2 separate regions of the Homo sapiens genome follow, and region 2 is linked to region 1. Evidence: promoter capture Hi-C in 16 types of primary human blood cells and fetal thymus (Javierre and others, 2016). All regions are on one chromosome and are shown on one strand. Each heading gives the region's core, a stretch centred on a gene start or on the middle of the fragment in contact. The rest is flanking DNA. Distances are from core to core; before and after follow the strand shown. Region 1 holds the start of OR5W2 (olfactory receptor family 5 subfamily W member 2). Region 2 holds the start of OR10AG1 (olfactory receptor family 10 subfamily AG member 1).

The links. The method cuts DNA at HindIII sites, captures the fragments that hold promoters and counts their contacts. A CHiCAGO score of 5 or more calls a contact.
Region 2: the fragment with the promoter of OR10AG1 here is called in contact with the fragment with the promoter of OR5W2 in region 1 in 1 of 17 cell types (neutrophils); the score reaches 5.5 in neutrophils.

Annotation. Positions count from the first base shown.
Region 1 is chr11:55,912,847-55,916,546 of GRCh38, forward strand. OR5W2 (olfactory receptor family 5 subfamily W member 2) reads right to left here and starts at 1,736. Exons shown (of 1, transcript NM_001001960.1): 1 at 804-1,736. The coding sequence starts at 1,736. The coding sequence ends at 804. The HindIII fragment of the contact is 7,753 bases long and covers 1-3,700 here.
Region 2 is chr11:55,968,131-55,971,830 of GRCh38, forward strand. OR10AG1 (olfactory receptor family 10 subfamily AG member 1) reads right to left here and starts at 1,815. Exons shown (of 2, transcript NM_001005491.2): 1 at 1,762-1,815; 2 at 1-377. The coding sequence starts at 1,777. The HindIII fragment of the contact is 3,009 bases long and covers 1-2,809 here.

The sequences.
Region 1 (3,700 bases), core at 486-2,985:
CTAGTTAGACATTTTGTTTATGCTTACAGTACCCTGCCTTTTGACTTCATGGCCTTTTATAGTTTATTATGAATTATTGGTTAGTTTGATTAATTAAATGTTTCCACTATATTCTATGACTCACTAGTACAGAATATAGTGGATTCAGCATGAAATGCAAAGTACACAGCAATGTGAAAGGCATGTACTAAACACTCAATAAGTCTTAGAAAAATTACTGCCTGTCACGCCCGTAATCCCACCACTTTGTGGGGCCAAGATGGGTGGATCGCCTGAGGTCAGGAGTTCGAGACCAGCCTGGTCAAAATGTTGGAACCCCATCTCTACTGAAAACACAAAAATTAGCCGGGCCTGGTGGCAGGCACCTGTAATCCCAGCTACTCGGGAGGCTGAAGCATGAGAATCACTTGAACCAGGGAGGCGGAGGTTGCAGTGAGCCGAGATTGCACCACTACACTCCAACCTGGGCAATAGGGTCAGATTCCATCACAAAAAAAAAAAGAAAAGAAAAAAAGAAAAATTACTCTGAAATATATATTAAACAAATAAAAATTTGCCCCACTAACTCAAAGACTGGAGCATTTTTCAAATATAGAGAAATTACCTTACCTAAATTGAAAACACATTAAAAAAATAGCATATTTAGACAATTCCAGAGAATTGCTAGATTGTGGCTGAGTAAAATATGTATTATATTAAATTAGGGTATTTGAGACAACTTTATGTTATAATATATAATTTGAAGAAAACACCAGTATGAATATGCATTTTTGTGTGTATAAACATGTATTTTTACTATTTCCTTAAAATAAAATTTTATTTTTCAGTTTTTTCAGGGCCTCTTTCACATCCTTGTTCCTCAGGCTATAAATCAGGGGGTTCAACATGGGAACCACAAGGGTGTAAAACAATGAGGTCATTTTATCTTGATCTAGAGAATAGGAAGAACTTGGCCGGAAATACATAAAGAGCAGAGTTCCCTGGAAAATTGCAACCGCAGATAAGTGGGAAGTGCATGTAGAGAGAGCTTTGAACCTCCCCTCAGCAGAGTGTATCTCCAAGACTGATAGGATGATATAACAATAAGAAATGAAAACTCCTGAAATGGTACTCAGTTCAATAAAACCAAAGACGGTGAATAACACTAACTCATTGACCTGTGTATCTGAGCGAGAGAGTAATAAGAGAGGAGGGATATCACAGAAGAAATGATTAATCTCATTAGACCCACAGAAGCATAGGCGGAAGGCCAGTGTCATATGTATCAAAGCATCTGCTATTCCCACCAGATAAACCCCAGTCAAGAGTAGATAGCACACTCTGCTAGACATGTTGACTGTATAGAGCAGGGGGTTGATGATGGCCTTGTACCGATCAAAGGCCATCACTGACAGCAGTAGACACTCAGAATCTGCAAAGATACAGAAGACCAAGAATTGCAGAGCACAGCCATAGAAGGGTATTGACTTGTTCTTGGCAAGTAGATCTACCAGCATCTTGGGCCCAGTTGCAGTAGAATAGCAGAGATCACAGAAAGACAGATGACTGAGGAAGAAATACATTGGTGTGTGAAGTTGGTAATCCATTCTGATTAAAACTATCATTCCAAGATTTGCTGAGAAATTAATGATATAAACAGCCAAGAATACAGCAAATAGGGTCACTTTCATCTCTGGGTTATTGGTAATTCCCAAGAGAAAAAAATCAGTTAATGAGGAGCAATTTTCCCAGTCCATTCTTCCTTGTTCTTGTTTCAAACTGCTACAGAAATCATTACGAGAATGACAGTCTAGAACTTGACTTTCCAAGATATCAAAAAAAAAATTATCTGTAAAGTAGAACAAGATTTGTTTATGTAAATTATCTTCTTTACCCTCAAAAAGTATCCCAGGTGAGTGTCACTTTCAAAGAGGCATTATTACTGTATTAAAAAAAAAAAACCCTAAAAGTGTCTGCCAAAGGAAGTTGATCAACTTTGAATCTAAACTTACATGCAATTTCTGACATATATCATTTGTCTTTGCTTCTATTGTACAATCTAAGGCAGTCAATTTGATTAAACTGAAAGCTCAGTACAGATCCAAAAGGATGTGAAAGAAACACCATAGTTAGAGTCACAAGGGCCAGAACATACCGGACTAAGCATCTCATATATTTGACAAAAAAGGATCATATTTATTGCATTATTCAAGAAATATATACATTTTTCTACCACTGACAGTGATATTACATGTAAGTTAATAAGAGAAAATTATTATGGTACTGTTTTTGATGTGGTGTCGTTAGTGCTTACTGGAAAAGAAAAATGTTTTATTTAACTGTTACTCATCATCACTGGTTTGTCACAGCATTTATAATCCATTTGGATGACTTATCTGGTTCTAAAAAACAAAAGCCAAATGTAAGTGGTAAAAGAAGTGTGAACAACAGACTACTTATATTTGCTTATAATTGACTTTTTCATTAAAATCAAAATGTGAAGAACAATAAGTGTTTCTGAAATATATAGGCTTCTGTTGCTTGTGTTATATGTGCACTTACTCTTGTGTGTGTGTGTGTGCCTGTGTGTGTCTGTTATATGAAAATTGAAATGTGGGGTGGGTCTGATTGTTATTTCTTCTAGACTTAAATATTATGGCATGTACCTTAAGAACTTGAATTTTCATAAATTAATATCTGTAATGTGTTACCTCTATTATTATTTGAGTAAATCTAGAACCTATCTTAAATTTACATCTAAAATAATATCACAGGTACAGTGATTTTTTAAAGTAATGATTTACTTATGAAGGTTGATTAAAATATAAATGGGTGAAATCTATATTATCCTCTTACAATGACAAGTAAGGTCAGTCAAATTCACACAGATCCAATAAGAAAATATCATTGTTTGGCCATTAGATTCCAGAGGTGCTTCAACTGAGTAAGCATCTATAAAATCATTCATTTGTAAATTCCTTAATACATGATTTCTTATTTTTCCAAAATTTTTCCTCTGTCCTTTAAATTGATCATTCAGAAACCTACCTGAGATGAGCAAGTCTTTCTGTCCTTACCTCTGGTATGTGAACAATAGGCAGATCACATTTTATTTTTACTGGTGACTGTTGGGACATAAATCTCTCAAGCCTCTGCCTTCACTCCTTTATGTTATTCAAACATGATTAATTAGATTCCTAGTTCTGTATTTTCCCCAGTGAATGCTGCAACTAGTTTACCAAAGGCTCCATTTTTAATTTTTCAGCTTTATCACCAAATTGACCAATGTTAGAAATTTATCAGAATTCATTTAACAGTATGCTTCATGGTTATCATGAAATAAGACAGCCAATGAAACTTGAGTAGATTTTCAACTTAATGGTTTTCTTGTCCTTTTCATTGTTCATCCTGTTTCTTCCACTTCTGAAAATCTCCTTCATCTCCCATTTAGAAATAAGATAATCTAACATGCTGCTTTTTTTCATTAATCATTGTCTGAGTACTTTTTCCCCAACTACAGTGACAACTACCCTCATTTCAATTATTTTATGGATGTACAACATCCGTCACATTGAACACACTTTTTCTTAATTTATATTTTATTTGTCTGTTGGCCTAGGTGTCTCTCTACATTCCCACAATCTCTAGCACAGAGATATGTGTGAGTAATGTATGTTTTTAAATGTGATTGTGTGATGTTAAATATTTTCTGCTTATTAGG
Region 2 (3,700 bases), core at 565-3,064, 55 kb after region 1:
ATAGGCCATCACTGTCAGAAGGAGACACTCCGTGCCTCCAAGCATAAGAAAAAAACACATTTGTGTAGCACAAGCAAACAAAGAAATATTTCCTTTCTGAGTCCAAATGTCCATGAGCATTCTTGGGATAATGATTGTTACATAACAGATTTCCAAAAGGGAAAAATTGCTAAGAAAAAAATACATGGGAGTCTGGAGAGCGGGGTGAATTTTTATTAGTAGTATTATGATGCCATTGCACATCAGGATCATCAAATACATAAGTAAAAATATACTAAAAAGCATCCAGTGGAGATTGGGAATATCAGAAAACCCCAAAAGAACAAATTCCATTATTGTAGTCACATTTGATTTTTCTCTTTTAGTTTGCTCTCCATCTGCAGATATAGCAAATTCAAGACAGTTAATTCATCCATATTTTGAACAATATTTTCCTCTTGGGTTAACTAAATGAGATACAGGAATATACTTACTTAAGCTCTTAAGTCATTTTCACCAGTACTTGCTCTGTTTCTAGATAATAAACTGATTTAGCATTAAAATCAATTTAAGAAATGAAACCTCAATATATTTTATTATACTGGGATATAATGCAACCAGAGGCATTGAGAAGCATGCATTGTTGTTTAGAAAATATTATGGAGGAATAACATCTTATTATTTCACACTTAAGAGTAGAGTTATAGTGTAGGCTTTTACTATTTCATCTGAGAATATCATTTTTCTTTGTATTGGTAGTCATATTCCAGTTTTTTTAATTCAAAATGTTGCCCTTGAATATTACGATTAATTCATACTCAAAATGAATTTTAAACTTTTCCTTTTATGCACCAGTGAGAATCAATTATCTTAAACAATTTCTTGGTTACTGAGAGACTAAATACATGCATTATTGTTGCTCTACTTCATGTCTCTCTCCTATTATTTATGCTAAATATAAAAACACTAATACCAGTAGGCAGTTTATTGACTTCCCCTGTTATTGCCCTGAATACAGTGAATGCTAAATAGTAATTAAATTATAACTTAATCAAGATGTAGAAATTCATCACAATTTTTTTTACATTTCTTTTTTTTATCTAAGTGAATTTCTCCATTGTCATATAACCAAATACAGTTCCTTTCAACCAAATACAATTCCTTCTCTCTATTTTCCCTTCATCCTGTTGCCTTATTAAAGTAAAATTCTTTGATTAAACCCAGCTAACATTTACTCTGGCCATCTAAGTGGCCAGAGCATATAAATGGGACCAAAAAATTAAACAAAACAAAACAAAAACACACTGTCTTGCTTCACTTCATGTCAATGTCATCCAATATGAGGAAATCACTGCTTGTCAATTCCCATTACACTTGCTTAACGTTTGTTCTCCAACTTTCTAAACAAATTCTTTTTTTCTGTGTCTTCAAATCTGCTGCACCTATACCTATTTTAGCCCGGTCAGCCAATGCATTTGACTTAATACGTTGATAAATGAAAGTGATCAGACAAATACTATCTCATATTTATACATTTCTATTAGTACTAGTTTTCAAAATTGCCTTAAATGACTTTTCATCACTAATGCAATTTTACCATTATTGGACATCTAATTTTATTTAACTTTGTAGTGAAGAGATACATGATTTAAATGTTAAATAATTAATTTTCAGATAAAGGTCTCAAAATTTCATGCTTTTCTGTTTTATTAGTTGCATTTCTATCCACAAACTTGTAACTATTCTTAAATAAAATAGTCTGTCAACCCAATTATGGCTTACCTTTAGGGATTTGCATGAAGCTGTCTGTACAGACTTTTTAAGCTCTTCCTTTTCTCGGGAACTGTAATTTTGCAATACGCTTGCTTGTTTCAAACAGCAACAGCTCTTATATAGGAATAGTCAGACTCAACCTGGGATGTGTCTTCTCTTGAGTATCAGTTTAATTTCTAGAAGGCTGCTTCTGTTTGTCAATCATTCTGATTCATTTTTCAAAACTACTTTAAGTAAACTTATCCTCCTCTTCATCTCCTCATGAGGGGAGTTAATTAAATACCATTTAGTTGTCTAGTATTACTTTCAGGAAAAAGTTAAAAATTTTCCAACTGTGTATTTGAGGCCCCTAATACTTAGTGTGGATTTGTCTGCCTTACTTCTATTCCAATAATTTATCCAGATCCAAATTAACTAGACCTTTAAAAAATATATCATGTGTTTAATCACACGAACATGATATGCTTGATGTCTTCGACATATTGAACGGTGAGATTCTTTTTCAGATGTGGAACCCTCTGTTCCTAGGTTAACTTTTTTTGTGGATATTAAAACATGTTAATTCTGCTGAGAAAATCTATCTATACATTTATTTCATTCTGTGTTGTCTATAAGGCACCAGGGAAATGTATCCAGCTGATTGAAAATGTAATATACCACTCCAAGACGTCCCACTAGACGCAGTCAAGAGGAACATCGCCCACGAGGGACCAGGACATCAGGAAGATTGGTGCACTCCTAGCAAATCTTCAGAAGGAAAGGAATTCTGCATGGGGGTACCACACACAGGAAGCATTCCTGGCCCCCAGTGACTCCTGCAAAAGCATGAGTTGAATGGGCAAGGAGCAACCCTCTCTTTCCATGAGCCTCCGAATCCCAGCAGGAGAAAACCCCTGGACCACAAGTAACACTTGAACTGGCAGGGAGAGATGCTTAGACAAGTGGTAGGGGCAGAACTCCAGCCTGTGTGGAATCCAGAGGGTTTAGTGTGAAAGTGTCTGTAGTGGAGCATGGCCAGGGATGCCCATCCCCCCAGGCTTGACCTGCTCCCGTAGGAAGCTTTAGCCCTATGGGAACTATGGGACCTGAATTCTGCACGGCAGTCTCACCCACTACATGAGGCTATTCTAACTTCAGCACCACTCAGTTTGCTGGCCTCTCCTGGGTCCCAGCTTGGCCCCCAGCCAGGTACCTCCTGGGGGCCACATCATAGCTCCTGTGCTGGTGGACCCCCGGCTGACCAGCAGACTGATCCAGCAGAGTAGCCTGTGCAGACACAGGCCAGCCCACCAGCACCCTCCCTGCACTGCAGCCTCTCGGGCCACTTTGCCTGCACTCACTCACCCATAGCCACCCCCTATTTATGTCTCTCTCCTATTATTTATGCTAATTATAAAAACACTAATACCAGCATCCCTTTGCCAGTGAGTGTGTGTGCCAGAGGACATTGCCTTCCCTTCCCTGCCACTGTGAGTGTGCCCATACATCCTGTGTGCCACTGCTCCCGGAGTGAGTGCACCTTTGGCCCTGCTGCAGAGCCGTTGTCCTCGGAGCGTTTGTGGGCCCGTCCCTCCCTGAGCGGGTCTAATGGTCACTAACTAGTGATCATTAGAGAAATGCAAATCAAACTTTCCATCACTAACCAGTGATCATTAGAGAAATGCAAATCAAAACCACAATGAGATAGATACCATCTCACACCAGTCAAAATCACTATTATTAAAAAGTCAAAAAATAACAGATGCTGGTGAGGTTGCAGTGAAGAGGCAACACTTACAGTGTCTTGATGGGAGTGTAAATTAGTTCAACCATTGTGGAAAGCAGTGTGACGATTCCTGAAAGAGGTAAAAACAGAACTGCCATTCTACCCCATAATCACATTACTGGCTCTAGATCCAAAGGAATAGAAATCATTCCATTATAAAGATGCATGCACACATACATTCAT